Regions from separate parts of the Homo sapiens genome. Here regions 1 and 3 are each linked to region 2. The links are contacts of gene promoters, found by promoter capture Hi-C in human tissues and cell types (Jung and others, 2019). All regions are on one chromosome and are shown on one strand. The core of a region is centred on a gene start or on the middle of the fragment in contact, and the rest is flanking DNA. Distances in the headings are between cores, read along the strand shown.

What was found. Contacts are between HindIII fragments. The study calls those that stand out against the background at their distance.
Region 1: a fragment that was not itself captured here is called in contact with the fragment with the promoter of PTPRG in region 2 in 1 of the 25 tissues and cell types used here (lymphoblastoid cells).
Region 3: a contact is called between a fragment that was not itself captured here and the fragment with the promoter of PTPRG in region 2, in 1 of the 25 tissues and cell types used here (dorsolateral prefrontal cortex).

What each region holds. Positions count from the first base shown.
Region 1 is chr3:59,671,901-59,676,175 of GRCh38, forward strand. All of the region lies in intron 6 of CFAP20DC-DT (CFAP20DC divergent transcript), which reads left to right. Among named protein-coding and RNA genes, the nearest start is that of CFAP20DC-DT, 590 kb to the left of the region's middle. The HindIII fragment of the contact is 3,044 bases long and covers 730-3,773 here.
Region 2 is chr3:61,559,042-61,563,259 of GRCh38, forward strand. It overlaps PTPRG (protein tyrosine phosphatase receptor type G), which reads left to right and starts at 2,530. Exons shown (of 30, transcript NM_002841.4): 1 at 2,530-3,331. The coding sequence starts at 3,247. RefSeq lists an enhancer at 632-1,307. The HindIII fragment of the contact is 9,021 bases long and covers 1-4,218 here.
Region 3 is chr3:59,591,277-59,595,471 of GRCh38, forward strand. All of the region lies in intron 6 of CFAP20DC-DT (CFAP20DC divergent transcript), which reads left to right. Among named protein-coding and RNA genes, the nearest start is that of CFAP20DC-DT, 510 kb to the left of the region's middle. The HindIII fragment of the contact is 5,594 bases long and covers 1-4,195 here.

The DNA.
Region 1 (4,275 bases), core at 1,002-3,501, 1.9 Mb before region 2:
GGATCACCTGAGGTCAGGAGTTCGAGACCAGCCTGACCAACATGGTGAAACCCTGTCTTTACTGAAGATACAAAAATTACCTGGGCATGGTGGCAAGTGCCTGTAATCCCAGCTACTTGGGATGCTGAGGCAGGAGAATCGCTTGAACCTGGGAGGTGGAGGTTGCCATGAACCGAGATGGCACCATTGCACTACAGCCTGGGCAACAGAGCAAGACTCTATCTCAAAAAATAATAAACAAATTAATTAATTAAAATAAAATAAAATCCAATTCATGACCAGACACAGTGGATCACACCTGTAATCCCAGAGCTTTGGGAGACTAAGGCAGGAGGATTCTTTGAGCAAGGAGTATGAGGCTGCAGTGAGCTAGGACTGTGCCACTGCCTTCTGCCTGGGCAACAGAGCAAGACCTTGTTTCAAGGCAAACAAATACATAAAGAAATAAAATACAATTCAAGTTAAAAAGATGAAATTTCCATGCTCTTTAGGAATCTGTTTTCACAGAGAGAGGTAAACTTAAAGTAGAGTTATTGTGAGACAGACATAAAAGCTCATATGCAGCATGCATTATTGCTAAGTCAACTCACAAAGAAAAATAGCTTAAGTAAAGTTTAGTAACTACAAAGCATGTGCATTGAACACCTTGATTATGGAAAAATAGTGCATTTAAGAAAAAAGTGGGGGCAGGCACAGTGGCTTAGGCCTGTAATCCCAGCACTTTGGGAAGCTGAAGAAGGAGGATCACTTGAGTTTAGGAGTTAGAGACCAGCTTAGGCAACGTGGCAAGACCCTATCTCTACTAAAAATTAAAAAAAAAAAAATTAGCTGGGTGTGGTGGCATGTGTCTATAGTCTCAGCTACTCAAGAGGCTGGGACAGGAGGATCACTTGAACTCAGGAGATGGAGGCTTCAATAAGTGGGGATCGTGCCACTGCACTCCAGCCTGGGTGACAGAATGAGACACTGTCTAAAAAAAAAAAAAAAAAAAAAAAAAAAAAAATTTGGAGACGTGAAGGGAGTCCTTAAAATCTTTGCAGCATATGGACTTGAGAAGAGTCTAGAACCGTGTCCCCTGGTCCTGTAATGGGTAGCTTCTCTGCCACATTTCACTCACTTCAAGACAAAAATGAGAAACTTCAAGGGCTGTTGAACACGGGCAGGATTTTCACAGCTGTTCAGAGTGAGTTAGCACAGGCGTTGTGGGAATCATGATGCATTGGGAAAAGTCTTTGCTCCTAACAGCCTCAGATTCCACCTGCTCAGTGGATGGTAGTGGGCAGCACTGGTGCAGGTGAAAGGCAGTTGGTGAGACCATTAGCAGCCTCTGGGGTCTCATCCTGCAATGGACTTTCCCTTGCCATGGAGTACCATGGGAAGAACTTGGACTTGGTGCCAAAGAGCCAGCTCCTAGTTCCTACCCTGACAGTTCTTTTGCTGTGAGATCATAAGCAAGCCATTGAAACTCTCCATGCATTATCTCTAAAAGGAGAGAAATGGGTTACATCATCCCCAAGGCCTTTGCTGTTTCTCAGATTCTGTGATGCCAAGTGAATTGTGTTAGCGTGTGCAGACATCTGAAAGTGTGCCAGGGGCATCCAGGTATTAGCTTGCGATAGAGTGAAAAAGCAATTAAATAAAAGGCAAAAAATCCACAAACGCATCTCAGTTTAGGGGATGATGTAGGTTCAGGAGGGCTCAGAGAAATTGAAATTCTTTCTTTTTCTGTTATTTTAAAAATGTATATTAGTAATACATGAATACATTCTGATTCTGGCCATGCATAAACATATAAAGCAAACCATGAAAGTTTTCCTTCAACTTTTCCTGCTCCAATTCTGTTCCCCAGAGGTAATCTCTGTCATTATTTTGGGGTACATATTTCCAAGCCCCCTTTTCTGTGCATGTATACCACATATTTAGATATTACATAGGTATCTTATTTTTAACATAAATGGCATCATATTATATATGCTATTCTGTAACCTGCTTTTTTTTCACCAATAATGTATCTTGGAGATCTTTATTTCAGTGTGTATAGGTCCACTTCATTCTTTTGAACAGACTTCATAGAATGAATGTACCACGATTCGTTCAAGCGTTCTTCTAAATGATAAGTATTTAAGCTGGTTCCAGTTTTTCACTATTATAATGTTGCTATGAATGCCCGTAGGATCCCATTTATATCCACCTGTGCAAGTGTTTCCAAAGATAAGAGTCCAAGAAAAAGGACTGCTGAGTCAAAAGCCCTGTCCACTTTTAATTTTGACAAATACTGCTAAATTAACTTTTATGAAAGCTCCATCCATTTATGCTCTCACCAACTGTATATTCAAAGGCCATAATAACCAATAGACTACTATCAATATTTTAAGCATTTTTTTGCCAATCTTGTTTTAATTTACAATTTCCCAACTTCTAGAGAGCTTGAGATCTCTTCAAATATTTACTGGACTTTTGCATTCTTTTCTGTGCAAATCTGTTTAAATTCTCTTCAATATTTTGAATACTTCATTTGTCTATTCCTTATTGATTCATGAGAACACTATATATATCCTGGATATTAATGCTGTCGTTTGTCTTTTGAATAGCTTACATAAATTTTTCTCAGTTTTATTTTTTTAACTCCATGACATATTTTGTTATATAGAAATCTTTAATCTTTATATATTTCTTTTTTCAGTTTTTGCTTAGAACAAGATTATTTTTCAATGATAGTTCCCAACTTTCGATTCTATAATATTAGAAGGTAAGCTTATATATACTGATGTATATATTATTTTGGTGTCAAAATTGTTTTCAAAGATAATTGGACAAATATGCATTATTATCGATCTTCTCTGTTGATTTCCTATCAGTGAAAATTTACTGTTCTTTGCATCCCTTTCTTCTAATTCCTCTATGGGACACTCCTGATGGTTTAGCTACTCTAGCACAGAACAAGCCGGTGTACCGATGAACCAACCTGTCAGTGGTTAAAAGAGGTTCTCTTGTTTGTTCCTCAGCAGTGATGGCAGCTCCTGACCTCCAAGCAATGAGTCTGGTTCTCTGACATTTTGTTTTCATAGGTAGAAAACACAAACTTTCATCTTGCCAAAGACTGTTTTCTCCCTTCCTTCCTCCCATTCATCCATCCTACCGTCCTTCTCTTCCTTTCTTTTGGATTTTTCCCTTCCCTTTTTGCCTTCTTTTCTCTCTCTCATGTACACATTTACTGAGCATCCACAGCATGTTAGGAGCTGTCCCAAATGCTCTGGGGACACAACAATGAACAGAGCAGCCAAGCCCCGACTTCCATGCAGCTCATTTTCCATATTCGTGCTGTTCATTTCAACAGACGCTGCAGAGCTCACACTTACATACAACCCAGGGGCGGTAAAGGGCATGGATTTGAGAATTGGGAGACATAGATATAGATCCTAGCTCTTCCTCTTACCTGTGTGACTTGGTCAAGTTGCTTCTTCTCTTCCTGAGTCTCAGTTTCCTCCTCTATAAAACAGATTAACTGCATCTACCACATAAGATTGCCATAAGGATTGACTGGATAAAGTGTATCAAGAGTTTAACTCCATGCTAAAATTTAATAAATACAATTAGTAAGTGGCAGGCACTGCTCATATTATTTCCCTGTATCCTCACAACAATCTGCAGCTGGTGGCTGATTGAAAATGATCCACTCCCATTTTGCAGATAAAGGAACTAAGGCTTGGTGCAATCGCAGCCACGAGACCAGGTCTCCCAGGTCCTGGGGAGAGAGCTGTGTTTGCCTTTTCTGGTTTGCCCAGACCAAACTTGGAGTTCTGTTGTATCTGTGCACCACCTGTGCTTCTGTGTACTCAGTACTTTCTTTAAGTTGACTTATCTTTAAACTTTAATATGAGTAAATAACCATAATATCTGTGTAAAATATGATTTTGAAATACTGGTTATGGTTTACCTCATACACATCAAAAGAAATACTCAACTGTGAACATTTTAGAACAGGAACATGAGCCCCACCTAGAAACATCTCGTGTGATAATGATGATCTCTGGCCTCCATGTGGAGAAAGACGTCTCTGAACCACTCAGCCCTTATACTATATAATGATGTCTCAAGATCCACACCTAAACCAAAATGCCGTGACTGGGGTGGAATTTCTTTTAGCTCATGAAGAACTGATGCTTCAGTCCTGCAGTTTCAGTGGAAGCAGCCTATTGGCCATCCCAACTCCAATTTTGTGAAGTGGCAGGGCAACCCGAGTTATCCAGTGGTCCCTGACATCAACAAATACAA
Region 2 (4,218 bases), core at 1,280-3,779:
TACCGAATTGGATGTGAAGTTTTAGCATGGGGCCTCCTACACTACTAAGGTAGTGGTAATTCACTCTGCAAACCCATATGAGGTTTTCCCCGACTCTGAAGCTCTTTTTTTACATTCCACATTTTGGTGCCTTCTCAAGCCATTATTCTGTTGCCTTGAATCACAGCTGTGGAGGCAAACAGGCCTGGGTTGAGAATCTCAGCTCTGCTGCCCACTAGCTGAGGATCCATCATTGTACTCTTCTGAGCATGTTTCCTTGTCTATTAAATGGGGAAAATAATTCTCACAGCTGGCAGTATTTTAAGAACTCCATGAGAGAACGGAGCATGGACTTAGGAAGGTATGCTCCCATAAGGCATGGGGGCTTGCCCTTTTTGTTCGAGGCTGTGTTCCCAGTGTGTCCCTCAAACAGTAGGTGCTCAATACATTTGTTGAATGAGCAAGCAGTTTATGGCATGAATTCAGCACAATGCCTGGTAGACAGTAAGCATTCCACAAAGGACAGCTTTTACTGTCCATTTCACAGAGGAGGAAACCTCACCTGAGGACGCTGACACAAGTATTTGACGAGTTTTTCCTATTTTATCACTCGACATTAAGAAGGTAGTCAGGGATGCTGGGGTAATCTAACTTGAGGAACGAATATCCCTCATTACAACACTTCCAAGAAAAATGGCCCTCGCAATCCTTTATAAAGAAGTCAGGATTCCAATAAAACCAGGAAGGACCACATTCCAAAGCAAACAAACTCGCCTCATTCCCCACCCTGGGGGAGGGTGTTCACCCCCGTTCTGCTAAAGATAGAGCTAGGGCCCTCCCCAGGAACTTCCTGGCTTTTATTAGTTTGTAATCCCATACGTAACTTTTCAAAGGTTTTTCTTTTGGAAGTGTGGGTGTGAAAATGCTTCCTTAATCACATCGAACGGGAGGATCTCCGACCATCTGTACTTTATTTGAAAACCTAGCATCCGGTTGGGATGTTTGGGTGGGTGGAGGACCCTGCCGTGTTGGGATGAAACAGCAGGGACACGTTTAAAACACAAGAACCATGCGCGGTGGCTCACGCCTGTAATCTCAGCACTTTGGGAGGCTGAGGCAGGCGGATCACAAGGTCAGGAGTTCGAGACCAGCCTTGCCAAAACGGTGAAACCCCGCCTCTACAAAAAAAACCAAAATAAAACAAAAAACAAACAAAAAAAACCACCAAAAAAATAATCAGCCGGGCGTGGTGGCGGGCGCCTGTAGTCCCAGCTACTCGGGAGGCTGAGGCAGGAGAATCGCCCGAACCCGGGAGGCGAAGGTTGTAGTGAGCCGAAATCGAGCCACTGTACTCCAGCCTGGGCGACGGAGCGAGACTCCGTCTCAAAACAAAACAAAACAATCCCACGTCAAGATCGCTTTGAAACACAGGCAGAAAAATTAGGCAAAAAATGTCAAACGGCTAATTACCTTGGCTCAGTTACACATTTACTCGAAAGCCCGCCTCCCCCACTTTTAGCCCCAGCGTTAAGAATGTAAAATAGGGCGCTTAGAAGTCTAAGCGATAAAGATCTTCTTACCGAGAGCCAAGGGACAAAACTCATTACAGATAAGCCTAGTCCTCCCATTTCCCCCGGACGCCTCTCCCCGATTGCTAAAGAAGCAGCCGCTCCCCGGGTAGCTGCCAGGAAATCAGTCCGGCCCCGCGGCGCTGCTTTCACCCTGCAGGGTGTAAGAGGCGCACTTCCTGCGCCCTCCCCGCGGCCAAACCGGGGTGCGGGAACCTTCTCCAGAGAAGCTGCGAGTTGGGGAAACTCCGCCACCGATCCATCGTGGCGCCGGGAAAGGGGATGCGGGGCTCGGAAGGGCTAGATTTCGCAATCCTGGGATCGACATTCCTCCCCTCCCCCACTTTCCCCAGCCTTGGACTGGGCCAATGAAAGCCCGAAAAAGAAAAAAAAAAAAAATTAAATCTCAATGTAGCCGGAGTGCAAAGGCCGCTCGGCTTTGTTTCCCGGCGGGGGAATGCGCTGTGTTGGAGGCGCGAACAGGAGCCGCAGACGGTGAGCCTCACCGCTGCAAATGCCAGGGCAGTGAAGCCGAACAGAAAACCCCATCGCTTTAAAAAGGCAGCTGTCCGCCCTCCCCCTTTCCCCTCGCCAGGGCGAGGGGCCCCTCAAGTCCGGGATCCGCGAGCTGCGCGGAGGATCTCGCCAAACCCGAGCACCGTGCGGCGTCTTTTAAGAGCTCGAACAACGGGAATCCAGCAAAAAACAAGCCGGCCCCAGAAGGCAGCCTCCCTCCTCTCTCCGCGCACGGGCTACAATCGCCCCCAGTCCCCAAACTGTCCCAGTAGAGGCCGCGCGGAGAGAGCAGAGCCGAGGGACCCAGCGCAAGGCGGGAGCCAAGCGCGGCTGCTTTAAGAACGCGGAGAGCGCGCGCCCGCCGCCAGCTGGCCCGGGCTGCGCGCCCCCGCCGCCACCGCGCGCCCCCTGTTCGCTCGCTCCTTCGCTCGCCGGCTTTAAAGTCTCTGCCAGGATCCATGCTCACATGTTACTTCCTGTATGGAGGCATGGCCAGTTTCCAGCCCCGCGCTCTTCGTTCCTTCCCAGCCTGCGCCGGAGCCACAACTTTCAGGAGCATGGACTGAAGGCGCCCTCGCCCCAGCGCCCCTCTGAGATCCTTTGTGTTTTCCTCCGTTTCCTCCGGCCGTTTCTATTTTGGGGGGCTCTCCGCTCCCCCTGCCTCTCCCCTCCCCTTCCCCTCTCGCAAACATGCCTCCTTCCTTCCCGGGGCCCTGGAAGGAGCTGCCTGCCTGAAGCCCGGAGACGCCGCGCCGCGCTCAGCCCCGCCGCCGCCCGCCGGCTCTCGGGCTGTGCTGCGCTGCCGACTCAAGTTGGGGATCCTCGGCTGCTCGCCGCCGCCGCCCGCGGTCCCTGCCTGCCCCAGGCCCGGGGCATCGCCGCCGGCCGCCGACTCCGCGCCCTGCCCGATCGGCTCTCTCCTTTTTAAACGGAAAGCAGCCTTTCTCCGCCGAGAGGATCGTCCCCAGCGTGGCTCTGCGTTCCCGGTCACTTTTTGAGATTTTCCGGGGGGCGCTCGGCGGCTTCCCGGATTCCAAGGGGACTCGGGCCGCCGAGCGCGGGGGGCCCGTGGAGCGGGCGAGCCGGGGAAGCGCCCCGGCTTAGCGGAGGCTCGCACGGAGGCAAGAACTTATTCAACAAGTTTACCTCCCTGCTTTCCTCTTTTCGATGTGCGTTTTCGGACATGCGGAGGTTACTGGAACCGTGTTGGTGGATTTTGTTCCTGAAAATCACCAGTTCCGTGCTCCATTATGTCGTGTGCTTCCCCGGTGAGTGCCGGCCGCCGAGGGGATGCGGCCCCGGCCGGCGCGCGTTGGGGATGCGGAGTTGTCGCCTGGGCGCGGAGCTCCGGCGCCCGTCCGGGAGACCCTGGAGAGGGTGGAGGGTGGCCCGGCGCCCGGATAGGAGAAAAGGATTGCTCCGCTGGCTTGGATGATGTTTAGGGAGGCAGGCTAGTGGTCGAGGAAGGTGGAGGCAGGGGCTGGCCGGGGAGGGGGCTGGGGGACGCGGGGGTCTGCTCCCGCTCCCTTTTGGGGGTCCTGGGGAGCTGGAATCGGGAGAAAGGGGGACTTGCTTTGCTGACTCGTCGCCGATCGGGAGAACTCGAGTTGTGGGGCGGTTGGGGAGACTGAGGCCATGGAAAGGATGCTTCTGTGGGTTTGGGGGGCCCGGGATGAGCCCCCTCGCTCTGGCGGGTATTGAAGGAACTCAGAAGGTGGGGGTTTGCTTTGCTGTTCTCCATCCCTTTGGGAGGGCTAGGTTTCGGGGAATGGAAGTCGGAGGCTGGCTGCGGAGGACTGAGGATGTGTGGGGAGCAGCCTGCGTTCTGGGTCGGGGGCGTCCTCCCTCTCTCTGGGGGCTGGGGCGCGGGCAGCACTTCGGTGCCGGCGTGAGGCAGCCTCCTTGGGCGCAGTGAGACGGCAGGGCGCAGGCGGTTTCGGAGAGATCCGTGTCTCCCCTAGCCCCGGCCCGTGGCCCTTTCCCTCCGCTGCTCTGCTCGATTGGATTGCCTGGGTCTGGACGCGGGGAGGGGGCGGGGGCGGTTTCGGCGGCCGGGGCGGTTTCGGCGGCCGGGTTGCTGTTCGCGCCGGGGCTGATTTTTTTCCTGTCTCGCGCGCCCTGCCTACCTTCATCTTTGCCCTTTTGCAGGCTGTTC
Region 3 (4,195 bases), core at 1,452-3,951, 2.0 Mb before region 2:
ATACCTATTAGAACACCAAGATTCTGACAAAACTTTCCCCTCCAATATACAGGGCTTGAAATTGAACTGGTTTTCTCCTTGGACATGCCTCAAAGAATTCTAACACCTCCTTTGTAGTGGATTGTAATTCCTTGTGCATCCCTTGCTCACATTACCTCCAATTCTTTATTCCTGATTTTTAAATGGAGGTGATAACTTTTGCTGCATTACAAATTTACCAGGATTCCACAATCTGCATGTTGGTGATTTAGTCCCTGTTCTGGAGATTTTAGGATGCTAACAAATTGACGTAAATAAGCTTGGACCCCTGCCAAGGAATATAGCGAGCCACTGAGCAGCTTTTCACATGGAAGGTCAGTGCATTTTTAACAAAATACAGAAAAAAGATGAGCCTTGGGTATGTTTTAGATCCAGGAAAGATGAGGCCAGGGAAAACCGTCTTCCCTCCCTTAGAAGACTTTGTGGAAGAGGGGGATTTTTAGGAATTGCTTAAATGATGGATGAGCTACCACCTGTTTCACAAGGATTCTGTGTTGCTGAATAAAATACTTTCAAATCACTCAGGTATTACTGGAAGAGATACTATACAAATACACAGCCAGATCTGTGTTCGAAGTGGCCCTTTAACTTTGGCCAGCCACTTATTCTTTAAATAATCTAATCTCCTCTTCTGAAAGTTGATTTGTGTATATTTGTACTTTTATATGTGGAGTATCTAATTGTGGTTAATATGGGCAATAATTTTAAGAATGATGTAAAACAAGATCCATAGCATCACTGAAAAATGTGACGGATTTGCACAGTGAAGTGTCTTTGGGATTGATTAAGACTGTTTTGCATGACTTGGTAAAGGTAAAATGTCATCTCTCTTTTCTTCAGACAAATAGATTTGGTTATCTTTTTTTTTTTTTTTTTTTTTTTTTTTGAGATGGAGTCTCACTGTATCACCCAGACTGGAGTGCAGTGGCACAATCTGAACTCACTGCAACCTCCACCTCCCAGTTTCAAGCAATTCTGCCTCAGCCTCCTGAGTAGCCAGGATCGTAGGCATGTGCCACCACGCTCCACTAATTTTTGTATTTTTAGAAGAGACATGGACCTACTCTTAGCACCTACTCTTAGGACCAAATTAGGACCATAACAAAAAAATTTATTGAAAATGATCATATTCTCTTTTACTATAAACTTTCAGACTATAATTTCTTATAGTGGTCTGGTCTTCCTAATTATGTTTGAAATCCTGACTTTTATTTCTTTTTCAATTCTTAGGGGAAACTAATTTAATTAGTAAGTTATCAAAATCTTTTGATCTTTAGTAAGTACTCGTTATGTTGGTACTTTATAAGCTAAAAATAAGAAAAACAACAGGAACCCCTGAAAGATTCAATGAAACTTTCTAATTCTAGACCTAACGTTTGTTGAGTGACTTGAATAAGTCACTTAACATCTCTATGGTTCACCTTCCCTTATGCCCAAAATCTAACAAATCTCTCTCCTCTTATTACCCCAAATGCCAATGGATGGATAAATGAATAGGTGGGTGCAAGGGTGATACATGGATGGATGCACGGTTGGATATGTGGACAGATGCATATTTGGGTGTGTGGACTGATGCATGTTTGGGTGCATGGAAGGCTGGATGGGTAAGTGCATTGATGGGGTGCAGGGTTGGGTGCATGGATGGATTCATGGATTGAAACCTGGTTTAAAGGAAAGGTGGAAGGACATACAAAAGAAAGTGTTTTTATTAAAAAATGAAATTAATTCAACAGAAGAATGAACTGAAATAAAGCTGGAAAAACTGATAAAATTCACAGAAATGTTTCTTTACCCCTGAAAGGAACTACTGTGCCTAAAATACTTTTTAAAATTTTTCAGAAAATGTGTTTGTGCCAAGCTCCATGTTGGATAATATCTCAGATGTTTTCTTTGGTAAGAGGCCTCTATGTTTTATATGGCAGAAACTTTATAGCAAGAGTCGTCCATTTGTATAATAAGATGATTGCAATCCATAGAGACAACCTCCTGCTATTTATCTTACGGTCCAGTCTAGTTCGTCGCTGGGTCTGTAAGGAGAGGTACTGAACATCAGTTTGAAAGGTTCCTCAGAGCATCCAGAGCCCCCTGGTATAGGTAAAGCTAAGCAGGGGAGCCATTGTTGTGTTACTTTGTTTTGTTAGATTAATGATTCTTCTGTTAATATTTAACCTTTTGTCAAATTGTGATGCATAAGGTTGTACATCTAGATCAATACAAATGAATAATGAGACAGGCATATTTTTTTCATCTCATTTATTTTCCTGCTAGTACACAACAGTGTTTTATTGACAGTGTGTTTCACATGGTCCATTATTAATTAAACTTAGAGAAGGACATATCCTTTGCCACATGAAAAGAAACACCAATGTTTCCCTGCTTTGATCTTTCCTGAGGACTTGGAATAGTAAAGAAGTCTCTTAGGACTGTGGATGGAGGGGAGAGTGAGGTATGCTTCATGGAGTGTTTGAAGATTGGGCACTATGTAATATGCCCTGAGGGGCAGCTCTGAAAGGTTCTGTGTGTTTTTATGGTTAGGATGTTATTGGCAATGATGCTAAATAAGAAATGCAACAGTAGCTGGGAATTTCTTCAAATGGCATGGTTTTAAATTACTAGATCTCCCAGAATAGAAAAGAATAATAAAGTACAGATTTCCTCAATCCCTCACAATATCATTTTGCCAGTTTTATATTTTAAAAGCATCCTCATTTATGCATTCTCTCAATAAAATCTGTCAGGGCAAAGTCCTCACTCCATACAATGTAGTAGTAAGAGCAGAAGCTTCACCATCATGTAGGGGTTCTGCGGAGACATTCTTCTTTCAAATCCACATTTCTCACCAGGGCTCTGAACTCCCTGCTTTGTATTTGTCTGTCTGTGTGTCTCTCTGTCTAGCTCCTTTGCTTCTCTCCTGAACATCTGCTCTCTCTCCTCCCTCTCTGTCATCTGGACCCCTCATCCTCTGTCCAAATGATGCAAGGATGCTCTACTCTCTCCAAGTTCACATGCCACTTCCAGCCACTTATAGGGACTGATGAGCAAATTTTGATTCCAAGTTCACGGAAGAAAGAAGCTGTTCGGCCCTGCTTGGGCCAGATGGTCCAACGTTGCTGTACGTCACCCATCTCCATGGGTGTGGAAGGAGGGGTGATTGTGGGAGGAGGGAAATAATCATGACCTAGGCAGACCCTCCAAGATGTGTCTACTACAATAAGGTACCTCATAAAGGTGTGCTGAATGGAAAGAAAGACAAGGAATTGGAATAAATAATGTCTATTTAATTGTAAATTGTACTTTCTTCTTGAGGGCGTGTAAATTTAAGAAACAGAATAATTATAACAGCATTTTCATAAATTAAGTAGTATTAGGCTTAACCCGAGTCACGGCTGGGTGCCCAACACAGCAGGGGTTTAATAAAGGCTTGTTAACTGTCTAGAACTCTGTTGAATTTAATTTAGCTTGATTTAGCATTTCCCATATGCAAAGTGCTTGACAACAATTGCATTTCCTGATATTTGCAGTCTTCCTGAGAACCTGAAATGCTATTTCTCATTTTATAAATGTGAAGCTATAATTGCCCAGTGAGACTCATTTCTTTGTGGGAGGAGGGTGGAAATAATGGTTAAGGACACCAAATTAGATCCAGATCTTGGCTTATCTGCTCACTAGTTTTGTGACGTTGGTCAAGTTACATAATCCCCTTGAGCTTCACTTTCATCTCTTAAACTGATATGATAGAAGTTACCAGGCCAAGGTTTCATGAGAATTAATTGAGAGCTTAGAACGCAGAAGGTGCTCAGTATGTTAGCTCTTAATAATTGCAATAGTTATTGTTGTATAAGATTTTACTGCATGTTAGGCAACAATTTCTTAAAGAAGAGTCCCAGGAATGCTGTAACATAAATGGCTTAAGAGTGCATGCTGTTGTTTGCCTGATAGCTCCCTGTAACTGATACGCTCAGGTTACAGGCTTAAGTATATGTGTTTTATTCTCTGCATCACACACAGAGTTCACCCCTCCTCTTGGGTGTTGGTCTGTTGGATCCGCCTCTTCAAGAGACAGACCGAGCTCTGAAATATTGACTTGAAGGGCTGCGTAAATTATTACCTTGCTGCTCTTACCTAAAGAAGAGAGAGCAAAGCTAAGGGGCAGGTG